4 separate regions of the Homo sapiens genome follow, and regions 1, 2 and 3 are each linked to region 4. The links are contacts of gene promoters, found by promoter capture Hi-C in human tissues and cell types (Jung and others, 2019). All regions are on one chromosome and are shown on one strand. The core of a region is centred on a gene start or on the middle of the fragment in contact, and the rest is flanking DNA. Distances in the headings are between cores, read along the strand shown. Region 1 has its middle 15 kb from the start of GALNT1. Region 2 has its middle 49 kb from the start of ZNF397. Region 3 has its middle 26 kb from the start of ZNF397. Region 4 holds the start of ZNF24 (zinc finger protein 24).

The links. Contacts are between HindIII fragments. The study calls those that stand out against the background at their distance.
Region 1: a fragment that was not itself captured here is called in contact with the fragment with the promoter of ZNF24 in region 4 in 1 of the 25 tissues and cell types used here (thymus).
Region 2: a fragment that was not itself captured here is called in contact with the fragment with the promoter of ZNF24 in region 4 in 3 of the 25 tissues and cell types used here (dorsolateral prefrontal cortex, hippocampus and lymphoblastoid cells).
Region 3: a contact is called between a fragment that was not itself captured here and the fragment with the promoter of ZNF24 in region 4, in 2 of the 25 tissues and cell types used here (dorsolateral prefrontal cortex and spleen).

What each region holds. Positions count from the first base shown.
Region 1 is chr18:35,564,713-35,567,944 of GRCh38, reverse strand. No RefSeq gene overlaps it. Among named protein-coding and RNA genes, the nearest start is that of GALNT1, 15 kb to the left of the region's middle. The HindIII fragment of the contact is 9,152 bases long and covers 1-3,232 here.
Region 2 is chr18:35,190,425-35,193,416 of GRCh38, reverse strand. No RefSeq gene overlaps it. Among named protein-coding and RNA genes, the nearest start is that of ZNF397, 49 kb to the left of the region's middle. The HindIII fragment of the contact is 5,575 bases long and covers 1-2,992 here.
Region 3 is chr18:35,213,491-35,216,636 of GRCh38, reverse strand. No RefSeq gene overlaps it. Among named protein-coding and RNA genes, the nearest start is that of ZNF397, 26 kb to the left of the region's middle. The HindIII fragment of the contact is 6,511 bases long and covers 1-3,146 here.
Region 4 is chr18:35,342,746-35,345,734 of GRCh38, reverse strand. It overlaps ZNF24 (zinc finger protein 24), which reads left to right and starts at 1,315. Exons shown (of 4, transcript NM_006965.4): 1 at 1,315-1,375. It overlaps LOC124904283 (a long non-coding RNA gene), which reads right to left and starts at 1,681. Exons shown (of 2, transcript XR_007066337.1): 1 at 996-1,681. RefSeq lists a silencer at 1,088-1,257 and an enhancer at 1,938-1,997. The HindIII fragment of the contact is 10,533 bases long and covers 1-2,249 here.

The sequences.
Region 1 (3,232 bases), core at 83-2,582, 220 kb before region 4:
CACCCCTCAGTCTATGGTATTTTGTTATGGCAACTAGCACAGACTCATGCCTCATTTTGTACCTTGGCTTTTCACTCAGCCTAATATTCTTGAAATCTAATCAAGTTTCTGGGTGTTTCAATAATTTGTTCCTTTTTATTGCTGACTTATATTTCACCTGACCGTTTTTAAGAGCTTCAATTTGTCTTTGGTGTTCTGCAGACTAGTATGATATGTCCAGGTGTTAATTTCTTTTCTTTTCTTCTTTTTAAGTTATTCTTGGAACTTGTTGCACTTCCTGAATTTGAGAATTGGTATCATTAATCAATTCTGAAAAATACTCAGCCATTATCTCTTCTGATATGGCCTCTCTCCTATTCTCTTTCCTTTCCTTTTGGAACTCTGATTAGACTTATTAAATGTTCTCACTCTATCCTTGATATCTCTTAACTTTTCTTGTATATTTTCCATCTCTGCATCTTTTTGTTGTATTCTGGGTCATATCTTCAGATTTATATCCCAGTTCACTTATTCTTTCCTGTAGTCTAATTCATCCTTTGAGTTTTTAATATCAATTATTATTTTATAAAACTTTATGATGATATAATTCTTATACCAAAAATAATTTTTAAAGTATAGAATTTTAGTGTTTTTCAGTGTATTCACAGATTTGCGCATCTACCACCACCATTAACATGCAGAACATTATCATCAACCGCAAAAGAAACTCCATATTTATTGGCAGTCATTCCCCATTCTCCTCGTCTCCCAACCCCTAGAAATTACTAATCTACTGTCTATTTTTATAGCTTTGCCTATTCTGGAAATTTCATATAAAAGGAGTACTATAATATATGTAGCCTTTTGTGTCTGGCTTTTTTTCATTCAGCATGAGGTTTGCAAGATCCATTTTGCATGGGTACTTTATTTCATTTTATTGCAAGGTAATATTCTATTGTATATGCCACATTCCACACCACTGTTTGTTAACCATGCTTCAGTTGATGGACATTTGGGTTGTTTCTACTTTGGCACTGCTATGAACATTTAGATGTACAAGTTTGTGTGTAGTTTTGAATTATCTTGTTTGTATGCATGAGAGTAGAATTGCTGGGACATGCAGTAGGTAACTCTATGTTTAATCAGTTGAGGAACTGCCAAACTGTTTCCTAAAGTGGCTGCAGGATTCAACATTCCCACCAGCAATGTGTGAGAATTTAAGTTTTCCTACATCCTTGCCAACACATATTACTTCCATTTTTTATATTAGAGCCACCATAGTTGGTGTGAGGTGGTAGTATCTCATTGTGTCTCTGATTAATAATTTGCTAACGAATATTTTTGCGTGTGCAGATACACACAAATTCCTTTTGAATTGTCTTGGCATCTTTTTCAAAAATCAGTAAATGTAAGGGGTAATTTCTGGAGTCTCAGTTCTATTCCATTGATTTGTATGTCTATTCTTATACCACACTGCACTGATTACTATAGCTGTATAGTAAGCTTTGAAATCAGGAAGTGTGAATGCTCCAATTTTATCCTTATTTTTCAAGATAATTTGGCTATTCTGGATCCCTTCCATTTCTATACGAGTTTTTGGATTAATCTTTCGAAATTCCTAAGATTTTGATAGGGGATGTATTTAGTTTGAATATCAGTTTGAAGATTATTGCCACTTTACCAATACTGAGTCTTCCAATCCATGAGCATGTGATGTCTTTATAGTGATTTGGGTCTAATTTTATTTATTTATTTATTTATTTATTTATTTATTTATTTATTATTTTTTTGAGACAGAGTCTCGCTCTATCACCTAGTCTGGAGTGCAGTGGCACGATCTTGGCTCACTGCAACTGCCACCTCCCAGGTTCAACCTCCCAGGTTGTAGCTGGGGTTACAGGTGCACACCACCAGAACTGGCTAATTTTTTCTGTTTTTAATAGAGATGGGGTTTCGTTTTGTTGGCCAGGCTGGTCTTGAACTCCTGGCCTCATGTGATCCACCTGCCTCAGCCTCCTAAAGTGGTGGGATTACAAGCATGAGCCACCACACTTGGCCCTAATTTAATTTCTTTCAATGATGTTTTGTAATTTTCAGTGCACAAGTTTTACTCCTCCTAAGTTTATTTCTAAGTATTTTATTCTTTTTGATGCTATTATAAACATAATATTTCCAAATTTTACGTTCAGATTGCCCATTGCTTACATATAGAAATATAATTGCTTTTTGTATATTGATACTGTATCCTGCAATCTTGTTGATTTTATATAATTTTACTTCTTCCCTTCCAATCTGAATGTTTTATGTTTCTTTCTTGCTTAATTGCTGTGGCTGGAACTTCCAATATATCATGTTGAATAGAAGCAGTGAGAGCGGATATCCTTGTCTTGTTCCTGATCCTAGGGGGAAAATACTCAGTTTTTCACCTTTAAATACATTGTTAGCTATGTGTTTTTCATGGATGGCCTTTATCAGATTGAGGAATTTCTCCTTTATCCCTAGAGTTTTTTTTTTTTTTTATGAAAGGATGGGTTTTGTGGAATGTTTTTCTATGTCTATTGAGATGATCATGTAGTTTTTGCCCCCTTACTCTACTAATATGACATGTTACATTGATTGATTTTCATATGGTAAGCCAAGCTCACATACTGTGATAAATCCCACGTGGTCATGATGTATAATCCTTTCTATATGCTGCTGAAATCAGTTTGCTGGTATTTTGATGGGGATATTTCAGTCTGTATTCAAAATTGGTCTGTAGCTTTCTTGTGATGTTTTTGTCTAGTTTCGGTGTCAGGGAAATTCTGGTCTCAGAGAGTAAGTTGGGAAGTATATACCAATTCTAATTTTTACAAGAGTTTGTGAAAAACTCATGTTAATTCTTTCTTAAAAGCTCAGTAGAGTCCAGTAGTTTAGCCATGTGGGTTGGGCTTTTCTGTGTGGTTAGTTTTTGGTTTGTTTGTTTCTTCATTTGTTTTGTTGTTGTTGTTAATAGATAATTCAATCGCTTTACTTCTTGTCTCTCTGCTCAGACTTCCTCTTTCATTTTGAGACAGTTTTGATAGTTTGTATGTTTCTAGAAATTTGTTCTTTTAGGTAACCTAACTTGTTGGCATGCAATTATTCATAGTATTTCCTTAAATTCCTTTTTATTTATTGAAGATCAATAATGATATCTCATCTTTCATTCCTGATTTTAGCAATTTGAGCCTTCTATCTTTTTCTCTTGGTCAGTCTAGCTAAAGTTTTGTCA
Region 2 (2,992 bases), core at 33-2,532, 150 kb after region 4:
ATCTAGACCTGTTGTATATGTGGCATGTGTGCTTTTGTCTGGATGGAGGGTCCTCAGTGTTTGTCAAATTATGGCATCCACAAACAAAATAATGTTGAGAACTAGCTTATCTACATGTAGCCTTACAACAGTAATTAAAAAAAGATGTAGTTTAAATATATAGCTGAAGATAATTTATGAGGATGCATTTATGTGTGGTTTTGTATTAGGCACTTTGAATAAAGAGAAGTTGATGGGCAATATTTTCCAAAGGTTAAGAGCAGTGGGATTCAGGAGTCAAATCTTAGGTTTCAATCATTATCACTGTCCCTCCCATTTCTAACTTAACTTGGAAGGGTCAGATTCCTCTTCTGTACAATAGGGATTATAATATGTACCTCTCTGGGTTAACATGGGTATTACATGAGGGAGCTGAATTATCTGTACAAAGAAAACACAAATTGTCCAAACAGAGCAGAGTATGACATTCATTCCTAGGTACTCAGTAGATGATTATAATCAGAGCCCTATATTCTTTATATTAAAAATTAAAACAGCTTAAATAATCCCTCCGATATCCAGGGCACATAGAAAACAGCAAAAAGATTAAATTAGTTTAAGTTAAGGAAAGTGAGTTTTCAGCAAAATCAAAGTGGGAAATGGGGAGGAAAGGCAGCTCGTAGGTGGTATTTGAAGAAGCTCTCCAGGTCACAATGAGAAGGCTTGATAGAGAAGCGAAGCTGATCAAGCAGCAGCAGGACGTGTATGATATGACACTGCTTCTGAGGCACCTCAGATGCAAGAGTAGGTCACAGTCTGAACCATGTTCAGATACTCCAAGGTTTAATTATGTAAATGACTTCTCCAGGGGATATTCCAGCTGCTTGCAAAGCCACTTCAGCCATGCTTCATTTATCACAGTCATGAACACACAAGAGCCTTCATATTGAAAAATTTATTAGTCTACAATGGGGATTGGGAGATGGAAAGGAAGGGCTTGATAACTAAAAGTGCTGCGGAGCTTCCATTGCTCTCACAGCAGTTACAAAATGGGCAGGTACAATCCTTGACCTCGAGCAGGATAAAGGCTTCAAAGTGAAGTCTTCCTCGGCCTGCTTTAAATGAGGGTGTTAGTGTAAAAGAAAGAAATGCTTTCCCAATAAAATTAAAATTTTCCAGAGAGCAGTTGAGATGACAAAGTATTTTAAATGATCATCGGCAATCTTCATCAATTGAAGACACAGCCGGGCGTGGTGGTGTGTGCCTGTAGTCCCAGCTACTCTGGAGGCTAAAGCTAGAGGAACCCTTGAAGCAGGAGTTCGAGACCAGGAGTTCTCTTTATGTTGCCTGGGCACCATAAAGAGACCCCATGTCAAAATGAAAACGAAACAAAAAGTGAAGACAGAAGATATTTTCAACTATCTTTTTTTTTTTCTTTTTTTAAATAAATTTAATTTAATTTCACTGTTTCCCAGGCTGGTTTCCAACTCCTGGCCTCAAGCGATCTGCCTATCTCTGCCTCCCAAAGTGTTGGGATTACAAGCATGAGCCACTGAGCCGGGCCACAGCTAGCTATTTTCTTAGTGTAACAATGCATATTACATTCCCTAGCACAGCGTCTGGCACATAGTAGGCCTCACATGTTTCCTCCTCCTCCACTCTTTCATATCTTTCCTATTCGATGAACACTTCAGAGCTTATTACGAACCCAGGTCACAATACCACAGTGGTGTTTTCTAATGAATGACAAGACACATTTGCATGATAAAATATTCTTGTTTTGTTTTTTAACTTACAAAAAAGGTCCTGCATAAGATTTGTGGGCCCCTTAGGGTCAAGCATTCTCTGTTCTCACAAGACATAAAAGCTGAAGCTTTTTAACAAATAGAAACAGTGGATTTTCTTTGCTCTGCAGTAAAGACCAGAGAAAAGTTTATGGACTTGTCCTTAGGTTTTATGAATGGGACGTGAAAACACCCACTTCCCCTTCCCAGAGGCTGTTTCAGAGAATAACCTCTTTTCTCATTCTACTTATGTTCTAAAGCCTTGCACAAAGCTAGTAATTTATAATTGCTGATTTGACTGAATGTATAATCTCTATCTTAAAGCATTTCAAGTTCTTTTTGGCAACCGCAGGGAGTTTCCAAGTTCCAAAAGGGAATGTTCAGTTTACTTTCATCTTTAATTATCTGGGATGGTGGTTTTAATCCTACTGAAAGAGTTAAGTGTCGATCAAAAGAAAAATCCATATGGTAAGATAGGGTGGTGAGGGAAGACCAAGTCATGCAGAATGCTAGGTAAGCAGCAATTTACAATTCAACTCCTGTCCTCAGTGCTATCAGAATATCAATAGTTAGGATTTGTTTACTTTTTTCAGATTTACAAGAGATAAATTCCAAACCTCACGATGGTATCCCCTTACTTAAGATGACAAAGTTCATCTGTTTTCATTCAGATGAACCATACTTTTGGGTTATAAGAGAACTTTGGGTAAATCTCTTTCTCTCTCCTAGTTTATAAACAACAGATATTTTTTTCTCATTGTTCTGGATGCTGGGAAGTCTGAGATCAAGATGCCCGCAGATTTGGGTCTGGTGAAGGCTGCTTCCTGGTTCATAGATGGCACCTTCTAGCTATGTCCTCACATGATGAACGGGCCTACATTTTTATTTCTAGAGGCATTAAGTTTACCTGAAATATGGCAAGTTTCTAGTGTCTTCTCTTGTTTTTTAAATAGCATGTTTTGGTAGCATAATATTGTCCTAAATTATTTCTTAGGGAACAAAGTAACATCTTGACTTATAGCAAATTGAGAAAAGGTGCTGGATAAAGTTCCAGAGCCCATTACAAGGCATCTGAGAACCTCCAAATACCAGGGTAGACTTGGAAACCTCAGAATCTCCTTGTATTTCTTTTCTAGAAGTCTAACAAGGGATTAGAGTCAACCTGGGACCCCAAGAACAATCTGCTCTGGGTACCAGCCAGAGTTGAAGAGCCTGGAAGGGCAGATGAA
Region 3 (3,146 bases), core at 423-2,922, 130 kb after region 4:
GTGGCACCAAGATTGAAAGGAGAGAGGTTGAGGGATAATGAGAGAGGTTGGAGAAGAGAGTAAAGAGAGGCCGCTTACCTGATTTAAAATTGGTGAAATGTTCCTTGGGCTGGTTGGTCTGAGGACCCGAGGTTGTAGGTGGATCTTTCTCACGGAGCAAAGAGCAGGAGGACAGGGGATTGATCTCCCAAGCGAGGTCCCCCGATCTGAGTCACGGCACCAAAATTTCATTCGCGTCCATGTGAAGAGACCACCAAACAGTCTTTGTGTGAGAAATAGAGCTTTTTAATCACCTGGGTGCAGGCAGGCTGAATCCGAAAAGAGAGTCAGCGAAGGAAGATAGGGGTGGAGCTGTTTTATAACATTCGGGTAGGTAAAGGAAAAAAGGGGGGTTGTTCTCTGGCGGGCAGGGGTGGGGGTCACAAGGTGCTCACTGGGGGGAGATTTTGAGCCAGGATGAGCCAGGAGAAGGAATTTCACAAGGTAATGTCATCAGTTAAGGCAGGAACAGGCCATTTTCACTTCTTTTGTGGTGGAATGTCATCAGTTAAGGCAGGAACCGGCCATCTGGATGTGTCCATGCAGGTCACAGGGGATATGATGGCTTAGTGAAAGTGAAAAGTGACAACTGGGATATAAGTAAACAGTTTTTCTTTTGATATGTTATTTCAGTTATTTTTTACCATAACTTGGTAGATACTGTTATTTTATGGATGACAAAACCAAGTCACAGATTGGTTAAATGAGCCCAAGTTCACACAGACAGTAATAGAGCCTGAATTTCAAGTTTGGCAATTTTTTGTTTTTTTTCTTGTTTTTTGTTTTGTTTTTGAGATAACTAAATATTCACAGTTAGCTGCAAAAATGGTAGAGAGGTCCTATGTACACTTTACCAAGTTTTCCCCAGTGGTTTTGTCATTGGAGAAGATGCACATAAGATGTAAACATTTATATAACTTATATAGCCATCTTATTTAACCATAAGTTGCAGCAATTGGGGAAATTGGGTAAACAGTTACATCTCATTAGAGAGTACAACATTAAAACTAGAAGGATTCTGGGAAGATGGCAGAGTAAAAAGTCTCAGGAATCTGTCTCCTCACCTAGACAGCAACTGCACCAGCAGAATCTGTCTGATGTAAATACTTTTGGAACTCTGGCATCTATTGAATTGAAGGCTTACAATTTCTATAGAGTGGCTTGCACAAGTAAATTGCGGTTAAGTTAAATCAATTTCAGCCCTTAGGACAGTAACAGTTCATATCCCCCACCTCCAGTCCTGGGATAGTTAGTTATGTATTCCTGGAGCAGCTTGCACATAGCTTGTGGAAGCCAAGGAGGGCAAAAAGGACCCTGTTCTACAAATATGGGGGATCTGTACTCTGATTGCTGAGTGCTGCTTCTGATCACCTGGCTCCATTGTTGCTGCTTCTGCTACACCTCCCCCATTGTTGCAAACCTTTCTCCTTCTGGCTGAAGTGACATCCAGGGGATTTAAAGGGCCAGTTCTATATTTCCCCTACTCTTGAGTTTTTTTTTTTTTTCTCCCTTTTGGGAGCCAGACATTAAAGACTGGAACATTCAAAAGGAACTGGATATATGAGCACAATTGGAAAGTGACCATAGTTGCTTAGAAAAAGGCACTGGAACAGCCTACAACAATCAGAAAAACAAAAAGAATAACAGAAGCAATGGCAGACAAACAGCAAAAGGGAGAATATGATTTTCAGAGTTACCACATTATTTGATTTGAATGTCCAGTTTTCGACAACAACAAAATCACAAGGAAAACAAAGAAGCAGGAAAGTTTGGCTCATTTAAAAAATAAGCAGAAACTGTCCCTGAAAAAGACCTGATGGCAGATCTATTAGACAAAGATTTAAAAACCATTGTCTTAAAGATTCTCAAACAACAAAAGAAACGTGGAGAAAGTCAAGAAAATGATGCATGAGCAAAATGGGAGTATCAGTAAGGAAATAGGCTAAAATAAATAAATAAATTCTAGAGCTGAAAAATACAATAACAAATTAAATGTTCACTGAAGGGATTCGCAGGCAGGTTTGAGCAGGCAGAAGAAAGAATGAGCAAACTTGAAGGTAGGGCATGGAAATTATTGAGTTTGAGAAACAGAAAGAAAAAGGATTGAAGAAAAGTGAATAGAGCCTAAGGGACCTGTAGGGCACCATCAAGCAGATGGATGACTATACACATATCAGGAGTTTTAGAAGAAGAAGAGAGAAAGGGACAGAGAGAGTATTTGAAAAAAAAATGGCTTGGCCGGGTGCAGTGGCTCACGCCTGTAATCCCAGCACTTTGGGAGGCTGAGGCAGGTGGATTGCTTGAGGTCAGGAATTCAAGACCAGCCTGGACAACATGGTGAAACCCTGTCCCTACTAAAATACAAAAATTAGCTGATCGTGGTGGTGGGCACCTGTAATCCCAGCTACTAGAGAGGCTGAGGCAGGAGAATTGCTTGAACCCAGGAGGTGGAGGCTGCAGCAAGCCCAGATCGTGCCATTTCACTCCAGCCTAGGTGACAGAGTGAGACTCCATCTCAAAAAAAAAAAAAAAAAAAAGAAAGAAAGAAAGAAAAAAAGAATGGCTGAAAGTCCCCCAAATTTGATGAAAGGCATCAATATAAACATCCAAGAAGCTTAGAAAACTCCAAGTAAGATGAACTCAAAGAGACTTACACTGAAATACATTTTAATCAAACCATGAAAATACAAAGATAAAGAGAGAACCTTGAAAGCAGTAAGAAAGAAGTGATTCATCACTTTCAAGGGATCCTCAATAAGATTATCAGCTGATTTCTCATTAGAAACTTTGGGGGTTAGCAGAAGGGCTAGAAACTCTGTAGGCTGATATGTAAAACACAGGTAACAAAAGAAAAAATAGACAAATTAGACTACATGAAAATTTAAAAATTGGCCAGGCATGATGGCTCATGCCTATAACCCCAGCACTTTGAGAGGCCAAGGCAGGAGAACTGCTTGAGCTCAGGAGTTCAGACCAGCTTGGGCAACATAGTGAGGCCTCATCTCTACTTAAAAAATAAAATTAGCTGGGTGTGGGGGCATGGGACTATAGTCTCAGCTACTTAGGAGGCTAAGATGGGAGGATTGCTTGGGCCTGGGAGATCAAGG
Region 4 (2,989 bases), core at 66-2,565:
GCGGAGCCTGACGGCACTTTTCAGAGGGCATTTTCTCCAATGAGGCAAAAAGTCAAAGCCTGAGGATCTTGAAATGCTTATGTTAGGCTGGATCTACACTTTTGACCAGTCCTTAAACAACAGGGCTCCTTTGTGTGGTGTCTGATGCCAATCATGTGACCTAGCTAAAGGCAGCAATGTAACCATCCCACAATTCATTTATTTATTCAACAAATATTTATTGAGTTCTCTATTTACCAGGCAGTCAGCTTCCAGGATCTAGGATGGGATACTGTGGTGAGCAAGACAGACAAGGTCCCTGCCCTTAAGGGACTTAAAGACAAAACAAAACAAAAAATAAAACAAGTAAATAAATGAGATCACTTCCATTAATAACAGTGCCATGAAGGGTCATGCGCCATGAAAGGCAGGTGGTGAGGCTGAGGATCTTGGGCCACAATGAGCCGAGGAGCTGAGGTGACTGGGGGCGCCAGGGTCTGGGGGTGCGGGCAGGCAACAGACCACAGGGGACTTACAGGCCATTATAAGGAGTTTTTATGTCATAAATTATTATGACATAAATTGGAGGGCTTTAAATAGGGGAGTGAAGTGGTCTGATTTGTAATTTTAAATGATCGCGTCAGCAGTTGTTTTATGGTATAAAATGCCCAGCTTTAAGATGACCATGCATTCTACAAATTCACCGTGACATCACTGCCAAAACTCTTAACCTGTCTTATCTAGTTTTCCTGACAGATAAATAGGTCGGAATAAAGCTCCATGACATAACTAGTGGGAGCCAAAGATTTGAATCACGTCTTGGTTTCAAATCTTGCTACCCACAAATGAGTTGTGAGCTCTTGTCAGGTTATTTACTGTATTTGTGCCTCAACTATCTCAGCTGTGAAATGGGGATAATGAAAGTTCCTACATCATTTATTTGTGGAAAAAAAAATGACATGTAAAGCACGACGAGAGCGCCTGGCACAATGTAGTAAGCTTTCACAAACACTCACTTTCATTCCTTCTTGCAGGGGATTACTGAGAGGATCCACAAGATAATGCACGTGAAAGGGCTTGCGAAATTGTAAGGACTATCTTAATGGTAGAGTCCTCTTTATGTTTTCTTTTAAACGGTCCAGAGGACGCTGGGCTGTTCGAGGAGAGGCGCGAGGCCAAGCGCAGCCTCAATGCGGTCATTGTCGTGGGGCCGCCCCTCCCCCGCCCGGGGCGCTTCTCCATGGCAACGTGGGCTTTACCTCTCCCCGCCTCCTCAGGCCCGCAGACCGGAAGCAGCCCGCGCCGGGGGCTTCTGGGAAAAGGCTTGTGAACGGCGTTTCTGCGTCTGCCGTGGACAGCGAAGCTGCTGCGGTTCCTGAGCCGGAGGTTTGCGCCGGTGTGCGGGGAACGTTATGAGAGGGAGGGGGGACACCGGGCTAGGGTCTGCGGACCTCTTAGCAGGAGCCGGCGGGGAAGCCTGTCCGGGACCTTCCTCAGCTTCCCGGGAGGCGCGGGGAACAGGCCGCGGTCTCCGCGCCTAGCAGTTGTGGGGCGGGGAGGGGTAGGCGGCAGGCCTGCTTGGGTCTTCGGCATTTGCAGAGAGCTCTCTAACCCCCTGTGTCCTCCGAGACCCTCACCTTCCCCCTCCCCCACCGGCCGGTTTTGTTCTATTTCGAGGCCCTGGCGTCTCGCGGAGGGTTCTGGGAGTCGTGATGGGAGGGGGTGGTAGTGGGACGAGACTTGCGCGGGGCTTCTGGGATTTGTAGTCTCACCGGCCGCAGGCGGAAGTGCCGTGGTTCCGACGCTGTTGTCACAGGGTGGCCTTTGGTCATCTGAAATCCGCGGTCCTGAGTGCTGGGAAGAGGGGCTAGAGGACGTCGGGCCGGGGCCGGGGCCGGGGCCGGGATACACAGCAGGTCTATGCAGCAGTAAGGTGGGCGATCCACCTGGGACGAGGTACCCTGCCCAAACATTGTCGGGACCGTGGGCCTTCCCTCCATTTCCCACAAGCGGTATGCTCTACAGCATAAAAGGAAGAGAAAATTATGTAGAAATACTTGCACCGTTGATAAGCAGGGTCTTGGAATAGGAACGAATGAATGTTGGCTAGACCTTATGTATAAGGCCACCACACTCCAGGGTATTTAATTAAACCAGTATGTATTACTTGTCTGATAAGGCCTTTTCTGATTCTAGTCTTCATCTTGCTTGGGTTACAATAAGTTTTTTTAAGTTGTTATTGTTCAGATTTTGGGCCCTGAATAAATAAATAGGCTGAATGGCTCATTGCTAGTATGTGTCGTAAACAACAGCACGGGCATGATCGTGCAAATAATAAAGGTCCAGAAGCAGTATACAGTTTCACTGAAGGTAGAAGCTGGGGAAACTGTGAGTCCTCCAGTGTAAGGACAAGACACTGGACCACTGCAGGAAGTCAAGGTGCTTATGCGAGTGCCTTTTCTTAATAGAAGTTTCTGTGATTAATGCCTATCATTATAAATATAAATGTACGTATGGTGTGGTGGAAGACTGAATATTTACGTATTATGTGCAAGATAATTTTTCAAAATTATGTGATGTTTTTCACATATGATCTTTTCAATATTATGTGATCTGCTACTCAGCAAGTGAACATTTTTTCACATATAAGTCCAAGGAGTTCTTAAACACCTTAAAAATATTTTTTAAATGGTAAAGAAAATTTTTTTAAGCACATAATAATAAAGCGAACCTTCCTTTTGAGTTGACTTGTGTGTGTCAGGAAACACCAATCCTGAATTGGAAATAATGCGTTCCAGGGTCAGGCACATTTAGAAAGCACTGAAGTAGTCTGGTTCTTACTTGGATTCTTTTGATTATTGACATAGGGTTTGTCGTCTTAGTAGGTCATGATTGGCAAACTTTTTCTGTAAGCGGCCATATAGTAAATAAGGTCATGCATAACTCAACGATAGTGCTATGGTCTGAGAAATATGTTAGGCTATTTCATCCTTGTGTGAACGTCATAGAA